Linked DNA regions of Homo sapiens: all the other regions are linked to region 2. Evidence: promoter capture Hi-C in 16 types of primary human blood cells and fetal thymus (Javierre and others, 2016). All regions are on one chromosome and are shown on one strand. The core of a region is centred on a gene start or on the middle of the fragment in contact, and the rest is flanking DNA. Distances in the headings are between cores, read along the strand shown.

Evidence for each region. The method cuts DNA at HindIII sites, captures the fragments that hold promoters and counts their contacts. A CHiCAGO score of 5 or more calls a contact.
Region 1: a contact is called between a fragment that was not itself captured here and the fragment with the promoter of CD79A in region 2, in 1 of 17 cell types (fetal thymus). The highest score is 5.9, in fetal thymus.
Region 3: a contact is called between a fragment that was not itself captured here and the fragment with the promoter of CD79A in region 2, in 1 of 17 cell types (erythroblasts). The highest score is 5.2, in erythroblasts.
Region 4: a fragment that was not itself captured here is called in contact with the fragment with the promoter of CD79A in region 2 in 2 of 17 cell types (total B cells and non-activated CD4 T cells); the score reaches 5.9 in total B cells.

Annotation. Positions count from the first base shown.
Region 1 is chr19:42,136,951-42,143,004 of GRCh38, reverse strand. LNROP (long non-coding regulator of POU2F2) reads right to left here. Exons shown (of 3, transcript NR_038332.1): 3 at 5,906-6,054. It also overlaps a transcript of POU2F2 not described here. Among named protein-coding and RNA genes, the nearest start is that of MIR4323, 6.5 kb to the right of the region's middle. RefSeq lists a silencer at 2,574-2,868 and an enhancer at 2,767-3,268. The HindIII fragment of the contact is 720 bases long and covers 2,281-3,000 here.
Region 2 is chr19:41,873,619-41,880,296 of GRCh38, reverse strand. CD79A (CD79a molecule) reads right to left here and starts at 3,018. Exons shown (of 5, transcript NM_001783.4): 1 at 2,914-3,018; 2 at 1,008-1,307; 3 at 644-762. The coding sequence starts at 2,992. RefSeq lists a silencer at 2,817-2,876 and an enhancer at 4,284-4,353. The HindIII fragment of the contact is 1,040 bases long and covers 2,543-3,582 here.
Region 3 is chr19:42,315,642-42,322,146 of GRCh38, reverse strand. TMEM145 (transmembrane protein 145) reads right to left here. Exons shown (of 15, transcript NM_173633.3): 9 at 5,586-5,666; 10 at 5,407-5,485; 11 at 5,184-5,277; 12 at 4,266-4,438; 13 at 1,710-1,830. Among named protein-coding and RNA genes, the nearest start is that of TMEM145, 5.6 kb to the right of the region's middle. The HindIII fragment of the contact is 1,958 bases long and covers 967-2,924 here.
Region 4 is chr19:42,177,268-42,183,986 of GRCh38, reverse strand. It overlaps a transcript of POU2F2 not described here. Among named protein-coding and RNA genes, the nearest start is that of POU2F2-AS2, 28 kb to the right of the region's middle. RefSeq lists a silencer at 6,621-6,700. The HindIII fragment of the contact is 7,957 bases long and covers 1-6,719 here.

The DNA of each region.
Region 1 (6,054 bases), core at 1,391-3,890, 260 kb before region 2:
CCCCGTGTGTCCCTTTCCAAACATACTCCTTCCTCTCTGCTGGAGGTAACTACAATTCTCACTTTTGGGATAATCATTTATTTGATTTTCTGCATGTGTATCATTTAATATGTTCTAATTTTAATTAAAAAAATGAGTACAGGCCAGGCACAGTGGCTCATGACTATAACCCCAGCATGTAGGGAGACTGAGGAGGGAGGATCGCTTGAGCCCGGGAGTTCAAGACCAGCCCATGCAACATGTTGAAATCCTGTCTCTACCAAAAAGTACAAAACTTAGCTGGGTGTGGTAGCATGTGCCTTTGGTCCCAGCTACTCAGGAGGCTGAGGTAGGAGGATTGCTTGCTGGGGGGTGGCAGTTGCAGTGAGCTGAGATTGCACCACTGTACTCCAGCCTGGTTGACAGAGTGAGACGACCCTGTCTCAAAAACAAAAACAAAAACAAATAAAAAACCCCCCAAACCCCAAACCCCCACCAAAAAACAAGTACAATCTCATTATTAAAACTAAAGTGCTGGCCGGGCACAGTGGCTCATGCCTGTAATCCCAGCACTTTGGGAGGCCCAGGCAGGAGGATCACAAGGTCAGGAGATTAAGACTATCTTGGCTAACACGGTGAAACCCCATCTCTACTGAAAATACAAAAAATTAGCCTGGTGTGGTGGCACGTGCCTGTAATCCCAGCTACTCGGGAGGCTGAGGCAGGAGAATCCCTTGAACCCGGGAGGCAGAGGTTGCAGTGAGCCAAGATCACACCACTGCACTCCAGCCTGGGTGACAGAGTGAGACTCTATCTCAAAACAAACAAACAAACCAAAACTGAAGTTACTACAAAAGAGGTTATAATTAGTTACCTTCCAGACCATTTTTTCTGCATTTGCTTAATACTTGTACGCCCATAGAAAAGATACAGTTTTTAAAAATAGATGTATGTGTTTTACATCAATGATATCAAGTTGTATAAATTGTTCTGCAACTTGCTTTTTCACTTAACAGTGTCTTGGAGAACTTTTCATGTCCGCAATCCATAGATCAGTCTCATTCTCTTTCATAACTGCATAGTATTCCTGAGTATGAATGTATTATAATTTACTTAGCCACTGTCCTATCGGTGGCATCTAGACTGTTTCTTATTTTTCTCAACCTCAAATCTTGATGTAGTTAGTGAACATGTTTGTTCTTAGGGCATGGTAGCAAATATTAAATTTAAGATTAATTAAGTTCCTGGCCAGGCGTGGTGGCTCTTGCCTGTAATCCCAGCACTTTGGGAGGCCAAGGCAGGTGGATCACTTGAGGTTGGGAGTTCGAGACCAGCCTGACCAACATGGAGAAACCCCGTCTCTACTAAAATACAAAATTAGCCAGGTGTGGTGGTGCATGCCTGTAATCCCAGCTACTCGGGAGGCTGAGGCAGGAGAATCGCTTGAACACAGGAGGCAGAGGTTGTAGTGAGCCAAGATTGTGCCATTGCACTCCAGCCTGGGCAACGAGAGCAAGACTCCTTCTCAAAAAAAAAAAAAAAAAAAAAAAAAGATTAATTAAGTTCCTGTCAGCCAATTTTACTGCCCCCATTTCACAGATGAGGAGCTTGAGGCTTAGAGAGAGAAGTCACCTGCCCAGGGTCACACAGCAAATGAATGGAGGAACCAGATTCCAAACCCTCATCTGATTGACTACCAAACTAGTCATTATGTTCACCTGTATAGATGGTTAACCATCTGCAGGGCAGTTGTCCTTACCCAACAAACATTCCTGGAGCCTCAGCTAAATGCAGGCCCAGTGCTGGGTGCTGAGTCTACAAGAACATGTCAAACTGAGCCCTCTTCTCAAGGAGCTCACAGTCTGTAGGTACAGCCTCATTGGGAAGTGATTCAGTGCAGTACAATTAGTGCTAAAGCCCGGGGATACTACCTGGAGCTGTGGCAAGACTGAGGTCAGGGAAGGCTTCCAGAGAGAGGATATTTGAGCAGAGGCTGGTGTGTACAGAATTTGTGGCAGACAAAGCAGGCATGAGGGATGGGACACATAGGGGAGCCCAAGTTATTGAACAGAGGAGAAAGGTGAGCTCTGAGGGTGAGATAGCTGAGGAGGTTGAGAGGCACCATATCCACTTGGGTTTGGAGAGCCAGCCTTGGATTTTATTCTGTGGACCATGGGTGCCTGGAAGGATTTATTCATTCAACAAGTAAGGTTCAAGCATCAACTATATGCCAGGCACTGTTAAAGCACCAAGAATACCACAGTGAACAAGACAGAAAAGGACACCTGTCTTCAGAAAGCTTACATTTTAGAGGGTGAAAGAGACAGTAAAGCAAATAGGCGGCAATTGAATTTCAGAGTGCTCTGAAGGAAATAAAACTGGGAATGGAGTGGAGCATGACTAGGGAGGGTTTCTCTGAGGAGTGGCCTTTGAGTGGAGTCTTGAAGGATGAGAGGAAGGGGAGGAGGTGGGGAACAGCATTCAAGGGGGCTGGCAAGGTTGAAGGCCCCATGTTGGGGACAAAATTAGCTTCCTCCAGTGTGGCTGAGGTGTGGTACTCCTGTGGCCAGCGGGGAGGTCCTGTAGGGCCCTGGAGGCCACAGTAAGGGGACTGGGTTTGTCCTGGGGGCAGCAGGACTGGAGGGCTCTGGACCAAGGCCATGGGCTCTTGCTTTTCAGCCTTTGGACAGCTCCCTGCGCTGGGATGACAGCGGCGGCCTCTGAGCCTGCAGAGTTGGTGCTGCGCCCAGTGGGAGCTAGAGAACAGGAAGTGCGCATGTGGGCTGTGGAAAGCCTGGGGGCAGCAGCAAGGGGGCTAGGGACTCCTGGGCCAAGGGCAGAGCCTCATTGAGGAAGACCCAGGGCCAGGCGCCTGCTCCCACAGGTCATTCAGAGACCCTGGTGAGCACATGGCAGTGGATGCCAAGGGACCCTGTTCCTGGGGGATCTGCAGTCTGAATGAGACTCACACAAGCCAGGTTGAGGAGCAGTGAGCTCAACAAAACAGCTGAAGCACAAGCTTTGGGGTCAACAAGCCTCTGGGTTCACTCCAGCCTCATTGTGTGACTGTGGGCCTCAGCTTCCTCATCTTTAAAGTGAGGATGATAATGGTCTCTCCCTCATAAGATGACAGTGAGGAGTAAGTGGGTTGCCGAGTATACCCAGCCAGGGCCTCTTTAGAGTAGGTTGGCCATGCTTTACCTCCCTATTTGTCAATGGCCAGTTGAGCCGTCAGTCCATCTCACCCGTTCTTGTTTCTTTCAAGCTACAGAATGTTAGAGCTGGGGCCGGGCCACAGTGGCTCATGCCTGTAATTCCAGCACTTTGGGAGGCTGAGGTGGGTGGATCACTTGAGGGCAGGAGTTTGAGATCAGCCTGGCCAACATGGTGAAACCCTATTTCTACTAAAAATACAAAAATTAGCTGGGCATGGTGGCGCATGGTTGTAGCCCCAGCTACTCAGGAGACTGAGGCAAGAGAATCACTTGAACCCAGGAGGTGGAGGTTGCAGTGAGCCAAATAAAGTAAAATAAAATAAAAGAATGTTCAAGCTGGAAGAAGTCTTAGAGTGCTTCTCCAGCCCATCTCAGACATATATCTGGGGAAACTGAGGTCCAGGGAGTTCAGGGGGCTGGCCCTAGGTCACTAGAGGGCGAATTTCAGAACAGGGACTGGTTGGTCTTCTTTTATTTGTTGGTTTGTTTTTCAGAGACAGTCTCGCTCTGTCACCCAGGCTGAAGTAGAGTGGTGTGATCTCAGCTCACTGCAACCTCCGCCTCCTGGGTTCAAGCGATTTTCCTGCCTCAGTTTCTCAAGTAGCTGGGACTACAGGCGTGCGCCACCATGCCCAGCTAATTTTTGTATTTTTCAGTAGAGATGGGGTTTTATTGTATGTTGGCCAGGCTGGTCTTGAACTCCTGACCTCAGGTGATCCGCCCTCGTCGACCTTGCAAAGTGCTGGGATTACAGGTGTGAGCCACCACACCCGGCCAGTTAGTCTTCTTTTATCTTCTTTGAGCCACATCACAGTGCTTCTTTTCTTACATGAGGCGAACTGGGAATTCTGGTGGATGTGGAAAATTGGCTGTGGTGGGGAGATATGATGAGGAATGTTTGTATCCATGTGAATTTGTTAAGCATCTGCTGACTTCTGGTCCACAGACCTTGCTTCTTGGAAGATGCTGCTTCCTGACTTTCCCCCTGGAACTGACCCAAGTGTCTTCCCCCTGCTTCCCTTCTCACTGTGTCTTTCAGTGATGGCCTCGCATCCACCCAGCCACCCCAGCCCAGCACCCACTTCTCATATCCTGTTCCTGTAGACTCCAGCTTGAATATGTATCCTCATCCTAATCCTCATGGCTCCTTTCTCCCCTGCCGCCTTGGACCACTGTCCCAGCCTCCCCATTGGTCATCCTGTCTCCAGATTCCATGCTACCAGCCGGTCCCCACATTTGTCCCCAGTAGAACTTCCTTACACAGAATGCTTCTGCGCAGAAGCCTTCCACCTGCAACTTCAAATCCAACCTCAAAGGAACTTGAGGACAAACTTGGGAAAGCCAAGTTTGTCTCCACCTTGGGGTCTTCAACCTTGGCAACCCCCTTGAATGCTGTTTCCCACCTCCTGCCCTTCCTTTCATCCTTCAGGACCTCAGGTCCTACCCTGATCTTTCTTACCTGAGCTTAAGCTCTTCCACCTGCCCCAATCTTCTGTGCCAGGAAAGATACTTTAACATACCTGGACCTCATTCTTGACTTCTCCGTGACTCCCATGCCCCACATTCAGCCAATCACCAATTATTGCTTCCTGTCATCATCACCTGATGGTGATGTGGAATTCATCAGCTTCCTCACGCTGACCCCCACACTCCATCCTCTGGTTCTTCACTGCGGCCTCCAAAGCAGCCAGGATTGTCACAAAAGTGTTCATAGAACCATGCCACTCCCCTGCTTGAAACCTTCTCAGGTGTCCCACTGTTCTTGAAGTCCCAAATTCTTACCTTGGCCTGCAAGGCCCTGTGCGATCTGGCCCTGGCCGCCTCTCCACCTCACACCTCGTCTCCTATCTTCTCTTCTTTGTTCACTCTGCTCCAGCTCTATAGGCCTCCTTTCTGATCCTGGAATTGCCACACTGTTTGTTTCCATGGGGCCATCGCCTCCTCTGTTCCCATTGCCTGGAGTGTCTTCCTTCACATTCTTTGCCTCGAGAATACTGTGTCTAATTGCTATGTAAATGTCACTTCCTTGGGACAGTTTTCTGCAACATGCCATCCTTTGTTTACATCAGGTATCCTCCTTCTACTTTTTTTAAGAGTCAGGGTCTCTCTCTGTCACCCAGGCTGGAGTGCAGTGGCATGATCGTAGCTCACTGCAGCCTCGACCTCAAGCAATCTTCCCGCCTCAGCCTCTCGAGTAGCTGGGACTACAGACGCACACCACCACACCCAGCTAAGTTAAAACAATTTTTTTTGTAGAGATGGGGTCTCGATATGTTGTCCAGACAGGTCTCAAACTCCTGGTGTCAAGCAACTCTCCCACCTCAGCCTCTCAAAGCGCCAGGATTACAGGTGTGAGCCACCATGCCCAGCCCCTCCTCTACCTATTCTTGAAATCACTTTTCCTAACTTAGAATTACATATTTATTTGATGGCTTTTTATTTTTTATTTTATTTATTTATTTATTTATTTTAGAGATTGAGTCTTGCTCTGTCACTCAGGCTGGAGAGCAGTGGTGCCATCATAGCTCATTGCAGCCTTGAACTCCTGGGCTCAAGTGATCCTCCTGCTTTACCCTCCAGAGGAGCCAGGACTACAGGGGTATGCCACCATGCCCTGCTAGTTGATAACTTTTAAAAATTATTTCTCCCCCAAAGACTATAAGCTCTATGGGTTGCTTTTAACCACTGTATTCTCTGAGCTTAGCAATGGCTTGGCACATAATAGCATTTATTGGATATTTATTAAGTGATAAATTACCAAGGTATTTTTATCCACTCCAGTCTTCCTCTCAGACTGTTAGCTCCTTGAGGTCAGATTTTAGATCTAGCTCACCTCTGGGTCCTCAGCTCCCAGCACAGG
Region 2 (6,678 bases), core at 1,769-4,268:
CAATCCTCCCACCTCAGCCTCCTGAGTAGCTGGGACTATAGGTGTGTGCCACCATGCCTGGCTAATTTTTTTTTAAGACTTTGTGTGTGTAGAGATAGGGTCTTGCTGTGTTGCCCAGGCTGGTCTCAAACTTGTGGCCTCAAGTGATCCTCTTGCCTCGGCCTCCCAAGCTAGCGTCTTCTTGAGTCTCCACTCCCTTACTATTCTCCATGAATAATAACAATAACAGTCACACTTTCTGTAGTGCCTAAGGAGAGGCTGGTACAGATCAGAGATTCTGGGAGGACCAGGCCCCACCTTCCCTGGTCTTGGCTACACCTGGAGGGTAACCACACTCCTGGGTGAGGGCAGGAGGGGAGTGAGGACACTCTTAGGGAGAAGAATGAGACTCTTCTTGGGGGGAGGTGGACGTGAGGACAGCCCAGAAGGGGAAACTAAATTGAAGACACCCCCTGGGCTCAGCGCCAGTTCAAGTCCCTTCTTTATATTCATTCATTTAACTCCCACAGCCCCTATATGGTGGGTGCTTTCATTCTCCCAAGTTTTGGATGGGGAACCTCAGGCTCTAGAGGGCTACCTGGGTATTGGGGGTCCCTCGGCCCAGGCCCTCGCCCGGCTGACTCAGAGGTCCGAGGGGGCTCACCCTGAACAGCAGCAGCGTCCCAGGCACCACCGCGCAGAACAGGAGGATGATCCCCTCGGCTGTGATGATTCGGTTCTTGGTGCCCTCCCCCATGTCCAGGAAGGGCCTGGGGGGCGGCTCTGCAAGGAGGTAGTATGGCTCAGAGCCCTGGCCCCTCTTGCCCTCCCTAGCCTCCTGGCCCCGCCCACCTCCTGCAAGGCCCCAGACCCCCCAGAGACCCCACTCTGCAGAGGAGAATGTCCGTCCCTCTGTCCAAGCCGGTTTGAAACCCACATTGAAGGTACTGGCTCTATCCCCACTTCAAAGATAAACCGAGTGTCCCCAGCGGGACAGTGGGAGTAGGGGCCAGGGCTGGGCCACTCACGGCGCACGCGGAGGTAGGTGCCGCAGGACTGCTGGTATGACTCGTTGCCCTCCTGGACCCGGCACACGTATATGCCCCCATGGCTCTTGTTCACATTCTGGATGATCAGCGTACCATTGGGGTCCTCGCCCGGGCCCAAGAACTCAGGGGGCCACGTGTAGTTGCCATGGAGGACGCGCCACCAGGTGACGTTGGCGTTGTTGCTGCTATTGTGCGGGCATTGGAAGTGGGCGTCTTCCCCCAGGCTCACCATCAATGATGCTGGGACCTTGTGCATCCACAGGGCCTGGCACCCAGGGCCTGTGGAGAGACAGGGTGGGTGGGTCAGGGACTGGGGATGGTGACACATTTCCCCAGCCCTGGCCCCTGCAGTTCCAGCACTCCTGGGAAGAGGGTGAGGACTCTCCTGGGTGGGGAGGGAGAGAGAGAGCCCCTGACAGGGGCTGATACATCCTGGGGAGAGGGGGGATGCGGGAAAGTGAAGAAGCCCCTGGGAAGGAGAGAGGACATACCTGGTTGGGGTGGGTGAGGATATCCTGGGAGAGGAGAATGAGACTCCCTGGGATGGTAAGACCCCTGGGAGGCCCTTCTCACCTCTGCAGCGCCATCTCTTGCCCCCCTCCCGCATACCCACTTTGTACTCTGGCCCTGTGAACTCTCTGGATTTTGGATGTTTGTTCCAGGCACTGGAGGACCGCTGTCCAGACAGCTCCTTCCAGAAGCAGTGCAGGCGTCCCCTCCTCCCGCAGCCTTCCCGGTCCATTTTTGCACCCCAGCCTCAGCCAGGCCCAGCACCTGGCGCTTTTTCTTGTGTAATCATTCACAGAACCCTAGAAGTAGGTTCTCTCCTTAGCCCCATTTTACAGGAGGGATGGCTGAGGCTCTGGGAGGGCAGGCGGGTTGCCAGCATCACCAGGCAGTCAGGAGTGGCACTGGGTTCAAACTCTTGGCTCCCTGGCCTCTCCCTGCCTGGGCTGAGGAGCCAGTCTGTGGCCTGCCCTGGCCTGTGACCCTGTGCCTGGCCCTCATTCTCTGTAAGTTGTATGTGTCAACCTAGGGGTCAGGGGTGAGTTCAGTCCTTGGGCTGGGCTGCTGGTGATTGAAGGGGCTCAGAGCGGGGTGGAGACTGGGGGTGTCTCTGAGTGAGACGAGGCGGCTCAGGCTGGCTGCAGTGTCCAATCCGGGCTCCTCTGGGAAGCCCCAGCTCTCAGCCAGGCCTCCCACATGGCCAGTCCCCTCTTCTGGAGGTAGGTGGAGGAGGGAGGTGAGGAAGAGAGAAGGAGGAAGAGATGGGGAGAGGGGCCGAGCACCCTCATCGTCACGGGCTTAAGACTCAGACGTGAACTCCAATCCTTGCTCCCAGTGTCCCCTTGGGTGGGGAACCTTTTTCTCTGAACTCCTGGGTTAGCGTGGCCACAGCCCCTGCCAGCTGTCCTTGAGCAGGTGAGGGGGAGTCCATGAGACACCCATTCCCCCAGTGCTGAGAAGGGACTCCCAACAGAGAGAGGCACCTGAGGTTTAAGGCAGAGAAAGCTTTTTCTCCCCTTGACAGACGCTGAATGCTGCTACCCCTAAGTCCCCTTCCTGCCCCCAGCCCTGGTGCTCAGTCAAGAGCAACTTTAGTTCCTTATTTTGGCCTGTGGGGAACAGGAGGTGGGGGAGGTGACTCTTGCTCCTGCCTCCCTGTGTGAGACTGTGGACGCCCCTTCTCCTTCGCTGGGCTCCCTCCAGCCCCACCTTGGCCCATCTTGGCACAGATACGATTTCTATAGGCATCTTCCCTGGGTCCCCTATCCTCTGCCTCCTCTTCCCCTTTCCCTGAGCCCCCTTCCCTCTGCCTGTGCCCTCTCTGCAGCCTCCACAGCTTCCCCCACCTCCCGCCAGTTCCTGCCCTTTGGCCACATACCCAGGTAGACAGCAGACAGCAGGAAGAGGAGGAAGATGGTGGCAGGCAGAGCTTGGAGGACTCCTGGACCCCCAGGCATCTTCTCCCAGTGGGTTGGTTAGTTTGAGTTGCAGCAGTCCCAGGGTACCAGATCCCTACCCCAAACCCCACCCTACTTCCTGCCCAGCCCCCCGGAGATGGGCTCCAGTGGCCCTCGCTACTGGGCCCTTTGCTTGTTGGGCCTGGGGACAGCCCCTGCCGGGTATGCTTCAGGCTGTGAGTGGAGAGAAACTGCTCCCTGCACCTGTGGTGGCCACAATTCCCCTGAGAGGTGGCTGCTTGGGTGGGGGAAGAGGCTGGTTCAAGGGCTGGCTCGTCACTGCTGAGCCTTTGGAAGGAAGCCTAGGGAACCTGAGTCCTGGGCATGTGTCATGGGCAGGTGATGGTTCTGAGCTTGACCTCTCCCCCTGCCTGGACTTGGGCAAACCTTGTCCCTTCCCTGACCCCATTTCCTTGCTTCTTGGGATTAGAAACAAGGACTTAAAGGGGTTGTCACATGCACAGAAATGGCCCACAGTAGGCGCCCAGTAAATGTTAGTCACTATAAATACTCATGAAGAATAAATAAGGCAGGCTGACCTGTGGCTGACTACCCGTGTGACTAGGTGGGCACTTTGATCCTTCGAAGCTTGACATTTTTCATCTGTGAGATGAGGACCAGAATGTCTCCCTGTCTCATTATGTGATACGAGATGGTGTTCCTGGTATTCAAGGAGTGAGAACCATGATCAGCTCTTTACTGGAATTCTTTTTTTAAAAAAACAGGCCAGCTATGGTGGCTTATGCCTGTAATCCCAGCCCTTTGGGAGGCTGAGACAGGAGAATCACCTGAGGTCGAGTTTGAGACCAGCCTGGCCAACATGGCGAAACCCCATCTCTACTAAAAATACAAAATTAGCCAGATGTTGTGGCACATGCCTATTATTCCAGCTACTCAGGAGGCTGAGGCAGGAGAATCAGTTGAACCCAGGAGGTGGAGGTTGCAGTGAGCTGAGATCACACCATTGCACTCCAGCCTGGGTGACAAAAGCGAAACTCTGTCTCTAATAATAACAATAATAACAACAACAACATATATTTTTCTTCTTTTTTTTTTTTAAGAGGGATGGGATCTTGCTATATTGCCCAGGCTGGTCTTGAACTCCTGGCCTCAAGCAATCCTCCTGCCTCAGCTTCCCAAAGTGCTGGGATTACAGGCATGTGCCACTGTGCACAGCCAGAAGTTGTTTTATATTGACCTGCCATGACTGGCAAGGTAGGCCATCCCCCATTTTACAGAGGGGGAAACCGAGGCCAGAGAGGGGAGGTTGTCACTTGCGGGTGTCATACAGTCTAGGGGTGGTGGACAGAGATTCAAAGTCATCTTTGTGTTGCTCCCAGTTTCCTTTGAGCATGTCTGGTAGGAGGGAAATGAGGTCTGAGTGGGGAGGGCGGAGTTGCTGAGATATTTGTGAGCAGTTAGGGGACCCTCACACACATACAAGGGGATATATAAAATAAATTTATTGCAGGGAGATTTTTGGTAGCAAACATTGAGAAGCAAATGAAAAGTCCATTTGTGGGAGAATGGGTGCATACACTGTGGCAAAGTGAGCCAACAGAATGCTACAGAATAGGGGAAGGTGTCATAAGGCTGTCTCAGAAACAGCACAAACATCAGAAAAAATATCGTAGCATGATACAGTTGACTTGTTTTCAAAAGGCGTCCGCTGCTTAGGGACACACGTTTGTAGCAGAGGTGTAGACCCGTGCAGGGGAGTGGCAAACGCCCAGTTCCTGGGAGGGGTTACCTCTGGGGGACGCCAGGGTTGGGTCTGGGGAGGGACACACAGAGACACAGAGAGCTCATCTTGTCTTGGTTTTATTTCCTGTGTTACTTTTTTTTTTTTTTTTTTTGAGACGGAGTCTCGCTTTGTCACCCAGGCTGAAGTGCAGTGGCGTGATCTTGGCTCACTGCAACCTCTGCCTCCCAGGTTCAAGTGATTCTCCTGCCTCAGCCTCCTCAGTAGCTGGGATTACAGGCGGCCACCACCATGCCTGGCTATATTTTTGTATTTTTAGTAGAGACCAGGTTTCACCATGTTGGGCAGGCTGGTCTCACACTCCTGACCTCAGGTAATCCACCCACCTCAGCCTCCCAAAGTGCTGGGATTACAGGCGGGAGCCACCGTGGCTGGCCACTTTTTTTTTTTTCTTTTTTAGAGATAGGGCCTCTCTCTGTCACCAAGGCTGGTGTCCAGTGGCATAATCATAACGTCAAACTCCTGGGCTCAAGTGATTCTCTTGCCTCAGCTTCCCAAGTAGCTGGGATTACAGGTGCACACACCATGCCTGGCTATTTTTAATTTTTTTTTTCTTTTGAGACAGAGTCTCGCTGTGTAGCCCAGGCTGGAGTGCGATGGTGTGATCTTGGCTCACTGCAACCTCCGCCTCCCGGGTTCAAGTGATTCTCCTGCCTCAGCCTCCTGAGTAGCTGGGACTACAAGCAGATGCCACCATGACCGGCTAATTTTTTGTATTTTTTTAGTAGAGATGGGGTTTCACCGTGTTAGCCAGGATGGTCTCAATCTCCTGACCTGATGATCCACTCGCCTCGGCCTCCCAAAGTGCTGGGATTACAGGCATGATCCACCGCACTGGGCCTATTTTTTAAATTTTTTGTAAAGACAGGGTCTCACTGTGTTGCCCAGGCTGGCCTGGAAGTCCTGACCTCAAGTGATTCTCCCAGCTTGGCCTCCCGAAGTGCTGGGATTATAGGCACTGCACCCTGCCCTGCCTGTGTTACTTAAACTGGGTTGTGCTTCATAGGTTTTTCTTACATTATGAATACTGAATGCTAAATACTTGCATGCCTGAAGTATTTCAGATTTTTTTTTTTGAGATGGAGTCTTGCTCTGTTGCCCAGGCTGAAGTGCAGTGGCGGCACAATCTTGGCTCACTGCAGCCTCCGCCTCCTGGGTTCAAGCTGTTCTCCTGTCTCAGCCTCCCAAGTAGCTGGAATTACAGGTGTGCACCACCATGCCCAGCCAATTTTTTTTTTCATAGACACAGGGTTTCACCATGTTGGCCAGGCTGGTCTCAAACTCTTTTTTTTTTTTTTTTTTGAGACGGTGTTTCACTCTTGTCGCCCAGACTGGAGTACAATGGTGCAATCTTGGCTCACTGTGACCTCCACTTCCTGCATTCAAGCGATTCTCCTGCCTCCACGTCCAGCTAATTTTTGTATTTTTTAGTAGAGACAGGGTTCCATCATGTTGGCCAGGCTGGTCTCGAACTTCTGACCTCAGGTGATCCACCTGCCTCGGCCTCTCCAAGTGTTGGGATTACAGGTGTGAGCCACCACTCCAGGCCAAGGTCTCAAACTCTTGACCTCAAGTGATCTGCCCACCTCTGCCTCCTAGAGTGCAGAATTTTAAAAAAGTGCAATTGCCAGCTGGGCGCGGTGGCTCACGCCTGTAATCCCAACACTTTGGGAGGCTGAGGCGGGCGGATCAGAAGGTCAGGAGATCAAAACCATCCTGGCTAACACAGTGAAACCCCGTCTCTACTAAAAATACAAAAATTAGCCGGGCATGGCGGCGTGTGCCTGTAGTCCCAGCTGCTGGGGAGGCTGAGGCAGAATGGCGTGAACCCAGGAGATGGGAAAAGGGCAATTCCCATCCACGCAGAAGAGCCTGGGCCTCAAGAGTCCAGGATTCTTTTACAACTCAGCTCTGCCAACTGACT
Region 3 (6,505 bases), core at 696-3,195, 440 kb before region 2:
GGGGACCTGTCCCCTCCCTCGGTGGCTGGGCCCACTCCCTACACGGGGTACGTTGTAGATCCCTGGAGTCAGAAGCTGGGACACTGGGTCATGCCTGTTGCCCTTTCTGGTTCCCCTTCATTTCAGACCTTGTGGTCTGCTGGAGAAGGATAGGGTTCAAAGTATTTGCCTGCCGCCAAAGGCCACGGAGCCCTGGCACGTCACTTCTCCTCTCTGGGCCTTAGCTTCCCCGCTCTGTGTAGTGGGAACAATGTCAATTATCCACCCTCTCCTGGAGCTGCTCTGACAATTAAACAAGAGGGCAGGAGTAAATGCATATGGATGTTCCTAGAATGAAACAGACTGGTTCAAGACAGGTGCCCAGTGAACAATTGATGAATAAATTAATGAATATTAGAACTGTCACCAAGAATGTCAGATAGGATGTGAACCAGGGCAAAGAATAGACGTGGTGGGGGCCAGGCGCAGTGGCTCACTCCTGTAATCCCAGCACTTTGGGAGGCCGAGGCGGGCGGATCATGAGGTCAGGAGATCGAGACCATCCTGGCCAACATAGTGAAACCCCGTCTCTACTAAAAATACAAAAAAAATTTGCTAGGCGTGGTGGTGGGCGCCTGTAGTCCCAGCTACTAGGGAGGCTGAGGCAGGGGAATGGCATGAACTTGGGAGGCAGAAGTTGCAGTGAGCCGAGATCGCACCTCTGCACTCCAGCCTGGGCAACAGAGCAAGACTCCGTCTCAAAAAAAAAAAAAAAAAAAAACCACTTAACCGGGCATGGTGGCGTGCTCCTGTAGTCCCAGCTACTCCGGAGGCTGAGGCAGGAGAACCTGGGAGGTGGAGGTTGCAGTGAGCCAAGATCGCGCCACTGCACTCCAGCCTAGTGACAGAGTGAGACTCCGTCTCAAAAAAAAAAAAAAAAGATGTGGTGCTGTACCCTCCTGTTGCCGACCCAGGAGCCCAAAAGCTTCACCCTGTGCCACCCCAGATGCTTCTTCCTGAACAGTGGCCTGTGATGGCAGAATTTGGGCAGGGGCAGGGGGAGAGTGGAGAGATCAAGGAGGGTGGGGAAGGCAGTGGGGATACAAAAGAGAAATGGAAGAATCTGGGGACACAGGGTCAGGAATGGAAATGGGAAGGGAGGGCAAAGAGAGAGGATGGGGGTTGAGGAAAGAAGCCAGGACACAAAGTTGGAGAGGGGAACAGAAGAAAATGGGCATGGGCCCGGCGAGGTGGCCCATGCCTGTAATCCCAGCACTTTGGGAGGCTGAGACGGGTGGATCACCTGAGGTCAGGAGTTTGAGACTAGCCTGACCAACATGGTGAAACCCTGCCTTTACTAAAAATACAAAAAATTAGCTGCATGTGGTGGTGGGCACCTGTAATCCCAGCTACTCGGGAGGCTGAGGCAGAAGAATCACTTGAACCCGGGAGGCGGAGTTTGCAGGGAGCCGAGATCAAGCCATTGCACTCCAGCCTGGGAGACAGAGTGAGACTCTGTCTCGAAAAAAAAAAAGAGAAGAAAATGGACTCTGAGGAGCACAATAGAGGAGACTGCAGGAACCAAGCAGGCTCTCAATAAAGGGAGAATGACTAAAAGGAAAATGGATCAAGACCTCAGAACAGGAGGTCCAGCAGATCAGGTGTAGGAGCCTCACACATCTTCTGCCCTCGGGTCCTCCCCTCCACCCCCCACAGATGCCCATCCTCACCAGAAACACGCCATGGGCGTACAAGTGGATCCCCAGCTGGATGCCATTGACAATCTTCTCCCGGGCCCACTTGGGGATGCCGAAATTGGCAATCAGGGCCATGACAGGAACCGCAAAGAACCTGAAGGGGAAGTATTGGGTCAGTAGAGACACTGCTCCTGTCCTCCACCCCACCCTATAGCCCCACCTCGCCTGCCATGTACACACGCAGACCCCAGGCAGGTCCCAAACTGGAGGGAAGCCAGTGTGACCTTCAGAAGCCAGAGACTGAAATGGGGCAGGACTGGACTGGGAAATTCTGAGGGGCAAGAAGGAGGTTCAATTTAACTCAGTTCCACACCACCCCAAATCCTGGCATCTGATAAGAAATCAATAGACAGCCCGGGCACGGTGGCTCACGCCTATAATCCCAGCACTTTGGGAGGCCAAGGCAGGCAGATCACCTGAGGTTGGGAGTTCGAGACCAGCCTGACCAACATGGTGACACCCCGTCTCTATTAAAAATACAAAATTAGCTGGGTGTGGTGGCATGCACCTGTAATCCCAGCTATTTGGAAGGCTGAAGCAGGGGAATCACGTGAACCTGGGAGGCGGAGGCTGCAGTGAGCGGAGATTGTACCACTGCACTCCAGCCTGGGCAACAAGAGCGAAACTCCATCTCAAAAAAAAAAAAAAAAAAAGAAGAAATCAGGCCGGGCACAGTGGCTTATGCCTGTAATCCCAGTACTTTGGGAGGCCAAGGCAGGTGGATCACCTGAGGTCAGGAGTTCCAGACCAGCCTGGCCAATATGGTGGAAACCACATCTCTACTAAAAATACATAAATTAGCAGGGTGTGGTGGCATGCGCCTGTAGTCCCAGCTACTCGGGAGGCTGAGGCAGAAGAATCACTTGAATTTAGGAGGCGGAGGTTGCAGTGAGCTGAGATCGTGCCACTGCACTCCAGCCTGGGCGACAGAGCAAGACTCCGTCTCAAAAACAAAAAACAAACAAACAAAAAAAAATAGATATTTGACGAATGAATGAACAAATGATAATAAGAAGTAAGGACTTATTGCATGCCAGGCCTGTTTCTAAGCATTTGATGTATATAAACTCATTTAACTCTCACAGTGACTCTATGAAGCAGATAAAATTTCCATCCCCATTAAAAGGTGAGGAAACTGAGGCAGAGAGAAGTTAATGGGCTCGTCTGAGGTCACATCATCTATAAGCTTTAGAGCTGAGATCTGAACCCGGACAGTCTGGCTCAGAATCTGCCAACCTTATTGCTATGTTATGGTGAACGATAATAATTACAATAGTTTTGGGTGTTTTTTTGTTTTGTTTGTTGTTGTTGTTTTTTGTTTGTTTTTGAGATGGAGTCTCACTCTGTTGCCCAGGCTAGAGTACAGGGGCACGATCTCAACTCACTGCAACCTCAGTCTCCCAGGTTCAAGCTATTCTCCTGCTTCAGCTTCCCGAGTAACTGGCAGTACAGGCGTGCACCACCATGCCTGGCTAATTTTTTTGTATTTTTAGTAAAGACGGGGTTTTACCATGTTGGCCAGGCTGGTCTTGAACTCCTGATCTCAAATGATCCACCCACCTTGGCCTCCCAAAGTGCTGGGGGTACAGGCATGAGCCAGCGCACCCAGTCTACAATAGTTTTTTACTGAACATTTACTATGTGCCAGACACTCGGCCCTCATATAGTGGCCTATGCTTGCTCAAGATATCCCTTTGAGGAGATCCTGTTTTTTTTTTTTTTTGAAGATGAAGTCTTGCTCTGTTGCCCAGGTTGGAATGCAATGATGTGATCTCGGCTCACTGCAACCTCTGCCTCCCGGGTTCAAGCAATTCTCCTGCCTCAGCCTCCTGAGTAGCTGGGATTACAGGTGCCCACCAGCATGCCCGGCTAATTTTTTTATTTTTTGGTAGAGATGGGGTTTCACCATGTTGATCAGGCTGGTCTCGAACTCCTGACCTCAGGTGATCCACCCGCCTTGGCCTCCCAAAGTGATGGGATTACAGGTGTGAGCCACCACGCCCGGCCTGAGGAGATCCTGTTTGGTTTTTTTTTTTTTTTTTTGAGATGGAGTCTTGCTCTGTGGCCCAGGCTGGAGTGCAGTGGTGCGATCTTGGTTCACTGCAAGCTCCGCCTCCTGGGTTCACGCCATTTTCCTGCCTCAGCCTCCCCAGCAGCTGGGACTACAGGTGCATGCTGCCATGGCTGGCTAATTTTTTTGTATTTTTAGTAGAGACGGGGTTTCACCATGTTAGCCAGGATGGTCTCAATCTCCTGACCTTGTGATACGCCCACCTCGGCCTCCCAAAGGGCTGGGATTACAGGCGTGAGCCACCACGCCTGGCGAGATCCTGTTGTTTTATGGGTAAACCTGATGCACTTCTTGTGAAAGTAATTTTTCACAAAGTGAGTAAGTGGCAGATTCTGGGCAACAGCTGCCTGAGTGAAAAGTCCATCTCCCTCACTATGGAGGGTCTGAGATGGGGGGCAACCACTTCTGGGGAGCCCCGAGAGGGAGGCAGGGACAGGCTGGGGCCCACCAATTCTCACCAGAGGGTATAGGCAGCAAAGAAGGGCACATAAAAAGGCTGCTTCTCAGGAAAGTGTCGCAGTGAGACAAGCACAGCATAGCAGAACCACACGTAGGCCGCCACCTGCAGTCCAATGAGCCCGTAGCCGGCCGGCGACTCATACGTGTACAGTACCTGGCCTGGGTCAAAGAACTAGACCCGCAGGAGAGGGTCCATCACAGCCTGGCCTCCTCCCCTCTATTAGGGTCCCCGGACCCCACCCCTGGGCACTTGGGAACAGAGGTACTCGGTCAGAACACAAGCAACAGGAGAGCCAGGCACGGAGACAGAAGCATATTGAGGTAGAGAGAGAGGGTGAAAAAGACAGGAAGAGAATAAATCAGTTACTGTTTGCTCAACACAGGGCTAAACCCCTCTCATGTGTGAGTTTTTCCATCAGCATCTACTCAACGAGGTAGGTCTTATTACTGCTCCATCTCACAGAAGAGGAAACTAAGGCTAAGAGGGAAGCCCTTTGGCCAAAGCCATACAGACGATAGAAAGCCTTAGAGGGGCTCCATGGGGTAGGTAAGATCCTCCCAATTTTCCAAGAAGAAAATGGGCCCAGAGACAGGGGTCGTCACCCAAGGTCAGGCAGCTAGGAAGTGGGAGAGCTGGTGTGGAATCCAGGTCTGTGTGACTCCTGAACTCTTAGTCACGATATTGAGCACAAATGTGACAGACAGTGAGAGACAGAGGGAGGAGAAAGAAAGCTGCTGCGGGATGGTGAAGAGAGGAGGAATCACTTAGACAGATGGGAAAGCAGAAAATCGAAGAGTGGGAGAGAGAGCGAGCCAGCAGGAGCAGGATGTGGGCAAGGGCGAGCAGACAGGTCAAGGGGGAGGCGGCGCCAAAAGCAGGGGAAGGCAGGGCCCGGCCAGGGGCCAGTCGGACTCACTTCCGCCTCGTAGATGAGCAGCACCACATGGGTGAGCGTGTACAGGGTCATGTAGACAGACAACTTCACGGAGCCCGCGTGGCTGATGCGGCCCCTGGCAGCAGGCCATGAGGGGAGACAGCAGGGTGGGGGCCGTCAGGGAGGAGGATGCACCCAGCCCCCCAACCCTGCCCCTGCCCTGCTCCCCCACCAGCCGCCCCACGAGCACGCCCTGCCCGGGCACCGTGTCACCGTGAATCCCTTCCCCAGGAGGATAAGCATCAGCAGGAAGATGAGGAAGCTGGAGGAGAAGAGCAGCTTGGCTGGGAGAAGGGAGGAGGGGGCGGCTCAGAGCCAGGCTCAGACCTGATGCCCAACCTGAGCCCTGGGCTCCACCCTCTCCCCACCCAGCTTCATTCTCACCCAAGATCTTCACACTCTCGTTGCCAATGCCATCGGTGGCATATTGACCCCAGTAGATGCAGAAAAATAGGAGGCTCAGGACTGAGGGGAGGATGGGCAGATAAGAAAGGATAGAAAGCAGCTCTGGGGCATCACTGTTCTCTAGCACTACCATCCAGGCAGTCTGAATCCCGCCTCCTCCCTTAGGACTCCAGACCTTCTACCCCGACTCACCTGCTAGGAGAATCTGGAGTCCAGCCCCCAACCCTGCTCCCCAAGGACCCAGGGGCCCAGGCCCCCACCCCCTACCCCCTCAGACCCAGGGGTCCAGGCCCTCACCCCCTCCCCCCTCAGACCCAGGGGTCCAGGCCCCCACCCCCTCCTCCTTCAGACCCAGGGGCTCAGGCCCCCAGACCCTCCTCCTCCAGGACCCAGGGGTCCAGACCCCCAGCTCCTCCTCCCTCAGACCCAGGAGTCCAGGCTCCCAGCCCCTCCTCCCCCAGACTCAGGAGTTCAGGCCTTTATTGTTTTGTTTTGTTTTGTTTTGTTTTTTGAGACAGAGTCTCTCTCTGTCACCCAGGTTGGAATGCAGTGGCGTGATCTCGGCTCACTGCAATCTCCACCTCCCGGGTTCAAGCAATTCTCCTGCCTCAGCCTCCTGAGTAGCTGGGATTACACGCACACGCCACCATGTCCAGCTAATTTTTGTATTTTTAGTGGAGACAGGGTTTCACCATGTTGGTCAGGTTGGTCTTGAACTCCTGGCCTCGTGATCCGCCCACCTTGGCCTCCCCAAGTGCTAGGATTACAGGTGTGAGCCACCGTGTCCAGCCTAGTTCCGGCCTTTATACTCCCTCAAGGACCCAGGGGTGTCAGGTCCCACCCCCTCCTCCCCCAGGAACCAGGGGTCCAGGTCCCCAGCCCATCCTCCCCCAGGAACT
Region 4 (6,719 bases), core at 1,844-4,343, 300 kb before region 2:
GTGTCTCATAGTTTCCTTCTCTCTGGGCCTTTTCAGGTGCAGGTGGGTTTTATTCAACATGGTACTTCGAATAGCAATGGATTTGTATTTTGAACCCTGATTTTCTTTGCACTCACTTCTTGATAGTCTTACTCTCCATTCTGTGTTCAAAACATAGTGAACTTTTTTCAGTTCTCACCTGCTTCCATGTGAAAGCTCTTCTTCCATGGGAACGCTTTCTCCATCCTGCCTCCTGTTTATCCTTCAGGTCTTATCTCAGGCATCACCTCTTCTCAGAAGCCTTCCGTCACTGCCCCATCCACCTCCTCTTGGCTCCCATAGAGCCCTATCTTGAGTCTTGAATATTCTGGCTGGTAATTATTTATTTATTTATTTGCAATCAGCTTTATTGTGATATAATTTGCATGCAATAAAATTCACCAGTTGTAAATGTACAGTTTAATGAGTTTACACACACACACAGTTGTGTAACCACCACCACAATCATGTTACAAAACATTTCCATTACCCTAAAAAGTTCCCTCCGGCGCCTTTGCTGTCAGTCCCCTCCTTCCACTGCAGCCCTTTTCAACCACTCATTTGCTTTTCCGTCACAGTAGTTTTGCTGTCTAGAATTTCATGTAAATGGAATCCTACAGTGTGTGGTCTTCTGCATCTCTCACTTTGGTTTTGAGGTACTTCTGTGTTGCTGTGTGTATCAGTAACTGTGTATTTATTGTTCATTCCCTCCCCCACCAACAACTTCAGATGAGGGTCTCTATGAGGGCAGAGTTGTGTCTCATTTGCATTTGTTTCTTCAGCTTACAGCATAGTGCTAATTCGTGATAGTATTCAGTATGCATGTCTTAAATGGAACCAAACTGAATGCTTGGGGAGAGTCAGCCTGGGAGAGCTTCTGAACCCGGGTGTGCATAAGGCAGGACCCATCTGCAAGATGCCTCATGGCCTTTTCATCCCACTCCAGCTGCTCCTCCATTTACTTTGGCTGGTTCTGCTCAGCAGGCCCTCACTTCTCTGCCCTTCTCTAACCTGCTTCCCTTTACCTGGTCTTCGATTCCCCGCTTGTGGTCTCAGGGCCCTGCTCCATTGCCTGCTCCAGCCTCCTCCTGGTCTTTGGAAGTCTCCACACCACTGAGCCCTGGCCTCCCTGAGCCTGCAAGTCTCTCCACTCCTCCTCCTGCCTGTCCCAGGACCCTACCCACTTCAGATGACTCCACATCTCAGTCCAGCTCTGCATACCTCTCTGTCTGTGCCTCCGGGTCCCTGTCTCTGGGCCCCTTCTAGGATGATGGAGACAGCTGGCTGCCCCATCCTAGGGAGCTAGGTTGTGATTCCTCTTCCTTTCTCTCTTTTGCTTCACCTTCATCCTCCGACTCGAACACCTTCCCATAGGAGGCCACTGGGGCAACCTCTAAATTTCATTCAGACCAGAAAAGCCTCTGTCTGTTTCTTATTTCTTTCCCTTCGGTCTTTATCTCCTTCTCCCATCTCCTTTCTCCTCTCCCCAGTCCCCTTCACTCTTCCTGATACCCTCACTCTGCTCTGCTCACCATTCACCTCCCTTCCTCCTCCTAGCTTCCTCTTTTCTCTCACACCCATTCTCCTCCTGTCCTTGTTCTCTTCCTTGCTCCCGCACCACATCTCCCTCTGCCTGTGTCCTCAGGGCCTCCTCCCTTCCTTCCATACATCCAGTTCCAGTTCCAGGTCTCTCTCTCTCTCTCTCTCTCTCTCTCTCTCTCTCTCTTTTGAGACAGAGTCTTGCTCTATCGCCCAGGGCAGTGCAGTGGAACAATCTTGGCTTACTGCAACCTCTGCCTCCTGAGTTCAAGTGATTCTTGTGCCTCAGCCTCCTGAATAACAGGTCTCTTCTTTTTGCTCCTTGTCCTTGCACCACTTTTTTCCTTCTCCCCAGTTTCTTCCCTTCCTGCTTTGTGTGCCTTCGTTTCCCTTATCTTACACCCTTTATCCTCAGAGATTATAAGGGAGCCCCAAGACTTGTAACCAAGACACCAAGATGTACACACACGCACACACATGGCCACAGATGCGCGAACAAATGTTTCATTAATGAACAAATGCATCTATCTAAAGGTATGTTCAAGGCCGGGAGTGTTGGCTCACGCCTGTAATCCCAGCACTTTGGGAGGCCGAGGTGGGTGGACCACCAGGTCAGGAGTTTGAGTCCAGCTTGACCAACATGGTGAAACCCCGTCTCTACTAAAAAATACAAAAATTAGCTGGGCATGGTGGCATGCGCCTGTAATCCCAGCTACTCGGGAGGCTGAGGCAGGAGAATAGCTTGAACCCGGGAGGCAGAGGTTGCAGAGAGCCGAGATTGTGCCACTGCAGTCCAGCCTGAGTGACAAAGCAAGGCTCTGTCTCTAAATAAATAAATAAATAAATAAATAAATAAATGTATGTTCAGACGCACACACTCAATTAAGGTCATCCATAGCTTGCAATGTTTTGTACTTAGTATACATCAGGTACTATTATTTGTATACATGTTTCTGAAAGATGAACAGGCAGAATGAGGAGGGAATAAGAGCTGAGCTCATTCGTACAGGAAGAGCCATGTACATGCACACCTGTACCCAGAGATGGCCCTCACTCAGACATGCACACACACACATTCCTCAGAGGAATCTGGTACTTCTGGAATTATGCTATTTCAGAAGCAGAGAGAGCACACATGTTTTTGCTGTGTTGTGTACAGTGTATGGTGTACGTCTTTGCATGTGCCTGGTGTGTATACATGTGCTGCATCAGCCTTCGTGGAATCATGACTCGGGGCTGGGCGGAGCCCTAGAAATCAGTTAGGACAACCTGCATGTGCGGATTGCTTAAGTCTCCTATTGGATCTGACTTTTGTAAGTCCATGAGGGATGTCAGCTTCTGCTTAATATGGATATTCTGGATAATTAAGATACCAATCATGCATAGGTTGTGGACCACAGACTCTTAACATACTGGCAAGTAAGCATATGATATGGACTTAGCACATATCAAACCAAGTTTTTTGGATCCTTAAAATTGGTGCTTTAGCCTGGGGAACATATGGAGACCTCATCTCTGCTTAAAAAAAAAAAAAATAGATGGGTGTGGTGGTGCATGCCTGTAGTCCCAGCTACTTGGGAGGCTGAGGCAAGAGGGGATTGCTTGAGCCCAGGAGTTTGAGGCTACAGTGAGCCATGATCACGCTGCGGCACTCCAGCCTGGGTGACAGAGGGAGACCCTGTCTCAAAACAAACAAACAAACAAACAGACAAACATTGGTGCTGTGTGCTTAGTGTATACTCACTGTATACACAATTATTATGTACTTGGTCATTCTTAGGAAGGATGACCGCCCCCCACCCCACCCATGTACTGGTCCTTGTAGGTGCCAGGGCCAAGGCAGGGAACAGGACATCCTTGGTCTCTGCCCTGTCCCTGCTTCCCTTCTAGTAGGTACTCAGGCTGTCCATAGCTCCTCCTAGGTCTATTGTACACGTACAGATGGAGGGACCTGGGAGTCTGCTGGGTAGATTCATTGCAGGGTCCAGTATTCCTTGTTGCTCCTTCCAGAATGGATAGTGTGTGGGTTGTCATTATATACACCCTTTTTTGAGTTCTCTCCTCACTATTGGGACCCCATGTGCCTTTGTATGCAAGCGGAGTGGGTGTTTCTTATGTTCAGTTTTGTTATGTGCCTTTGTGGATCACCAGAACCTGCTCATGGGTGTCTCTTATGTTCACACTAGCTAAGTCTATTAGGTTGGTGTGCCAGCTTTGTAGGCATGGGGGATAGGGTACTTCCTGCATTCATTTATGTTGTGCCCACACAGTATGGGTCCCAGGGAGGCTGGTTGGTAGGTGGCTATGGGGTGGTTCCGTGTCCACTATGTTCATGCCCTGTAGGCCCATGTGCCTAGTTTGTGTGCAGTTGGAGTGGGCGTTTCCTGTATTTATTTGTGTTGTGAACACACTGTGTGGATCCCAGGAGTCTGCTCTGTATGGGGGTATTAAGTGGTCCCATGTCCATTATGCATCTGCTGCATAAGACCCAAATACCTACTTTGTATGGACAGAGGGTAGTATTCCTTGCATTTATTTGTGTTGCGCACACAGTGCGGGTCCCAGGAGGCTGCTCCGTACAGGGAGTAGTAGGTAGTTCTGTGTCTATTATGCACACGCTGCACAGGTCCTGGGTACTTACTTTGTACGCCCACGGGGTAGGTGTTTCCTATATTTATTTATGTTACGCACTTCCAGTGTAGGTCTTGGGAGCGTTCTCCATACACGTGGGCAGTTGGTGATTCTCGTGTTTCTCACACACACATGAGGGTCCCGCGTGTCCACTCAGTATGCATGGGGTAGCCTTGCTGGTAACAAAGCGAAGGGCGGTTGCAGCTGCTAAGCCAAGACCGCGCAGCGCGTGCCTGCGTCCTCCTCCTCCTCCTCCCTTTCCCTCCCTGCCTTCCCCCTCCTGTTCCCTCCCTCTCACACCCCCTCCCAGGTCTGGGTACCACTTGCAACCCTATCCTCCTCTTTGCACCACTGCACCCCCGCCTGCAGGGGGCGGGAGCCATGCACCCTCCCAAGACCCTGTGCCCACCTTCCCCTGGTCGGAGCCCCTTCACCCTTGGCCTTCCTTTCCTTCCTCCCTGTCTCCAAGCCATAATGTGCCTGGCACAGGGGAGGTGCTTGGTGACTGGGCACTGCCCTCCTCTCTTTCTTCCCCTCCTCTCCCTTCCCCACTCCTCTCCTTTCTGCTGTTCTTCCCTCCCCTCCTGTCTGCCCTTTCCCCCTTGGTGCTTCCCTGGACCCTCTTGTCACCTTCCTACTTTCTGCTTTCACCCCAGCCTGTCCCTTCCTCCTTTACCTGGGCTCTGTCTCTGCCCCCCATCCCCAGCCTTGTCTACCAGACCTCATTCTCTATTTCTGACTCTCCATTTGTCTCTTCTTGTCTCTGTCTCGCATCTCTCTGTGGATCTCTGTCCAACTGAAAGCCTCTTCCAGTGCCTTTCTCCATCTCACTGTGTCTCTCTGTGTGTCTCCTGAGGTTTCTCTGTTCCTGTCACTTTCTTGCAGTCTCTGTCCATGTCTCTGCATTTCTCTGCCTCACTTTGACTCTCTGGGTCTCTGTCTTTGCTTTCTTTCTCTCACCATCTCTGTATTTCTTTTCATCTCTTTTTATGTCTTGATCTCTGTTTCTCTCTTTGCACATTTCTTTCTGTCTCTGTTTCTTAGGTTCTCTCTCAGAATCCCTATGTATATTTCTCTGTGTTTCTGTCTACACCTTCTTGTTTGACTCTGTCTCCTTGTTTGACTCTCTCTGTGCCTTTTTCTCTGTCTCAGTCTCAGTCTCTGTATCTTTTGGTCTCTGTCAATGTCTGTCTTTCTGGCTTTGCATCTCTCCATCTCTGTTTCTCTGTCTCTTTCAACGGCTCTTTCAACGGCTCTTTCTTAATCTCTGTCTGTTTCCGCAGGTCTATATCTCTTACCTCTGTGTGTGTCTGCCTCTGTCTCTATGTCTTCCTATCTCTGTATCTCTGCAACACTGCCTTACATCTTCATTTGTCTCTCTTTGCGTGTAGCTTTCTCCTATCTCTGATTTGTGCATATCTATCTCTCTTATTTCTGTGTCTCTGTCTTTGTGAATTAGTCTCTTTCTCTCCCCATATATATTTTTTCACTATCTCTCTGTCTCTGTGTGTCTACTTCTCTGTGGCTATCTTTCTGACTCTGCATCTCTGTCTCTGCATGGACCTCTTCTCCTTATCTCTTTGTCTCTGAGTGTCTCTGTGGTTCTTGGTGCCCCTTTATGTCCCCATCTGCTCCCTCCTCCCTCCTCTCCCCCCACTCTGTTCCTGTGTCTCTATATTTCTGTGTGTCTCTGGACATCTCTCTGCCTCCATGTCCCCTATACTTCCTGCCCTCTCCCTTCTCCTTTTCCTCTTTGTCTCTGGGTGTCTCTTTGAGTCTCTGGCTTTTAGGGCCTCTCCCTGCCTTTGAGTCCCCTGTGCTCCCCACCCTTCTCTGTCTCTTTTCTGTGTGTCCCCGTGTCTATTTGTTTCTGTGTGTCTCTGTGTCTCTGAGCATCTCTCTGCCTCTAGGAGTCTTTCTCTGCCTCTGCATCTTCTGTGCTCCCTGTCCTGTCCCCTCTCTCTTTTTTCTCTGTCTCTATCTCTGGGTGTCTCTGTGTCTCTGAGTATCTCTGTTAGTCTCTGGACCTCAGTGTCTCTCCATACCTTTGAATCCCTCTCTGCTCCCTGCCCCTCGCCCTTACCCCTCTGTCTCTTACTGTGTGTCCGTGTGTCTCTGTGTCTCTGTGTGTCCGTGTGTCTCTGTGTCTCTCAGTATCTCTGTGGGCCTCTGTCGGTCTCAAGGATTGTCCTTGTCTCCGTGTCCCCTTCTATTCCTACCCCTCTCCTCTATCTCTGTGTCTCTGTTTCTGCATATGTCTGCATCTCTCCGTCTCTGTGTCTCTCTGTGTCTCTGTGGGTCTCGGGCCTCTCCCTGCCTCCGTGTCCCCTGCGCTCCCCGCCCTCTCCCTCTCCCTCTCTCCCCCCTCGCTCTCTCGCTCGCGCTCTCTCTCTGAGCATCCTTGGGCCCGGGGTTGCCATGGGGACAAGGTGGGAGCCGGGGATGGCGCGCGCCTGGGCTCGCGCCGGCAGCTCAGGCGAGGAGCAGCGGCCAGAGCAGCGCCAGCAGCAGGCAGCGAGCGGGCGCGGGAG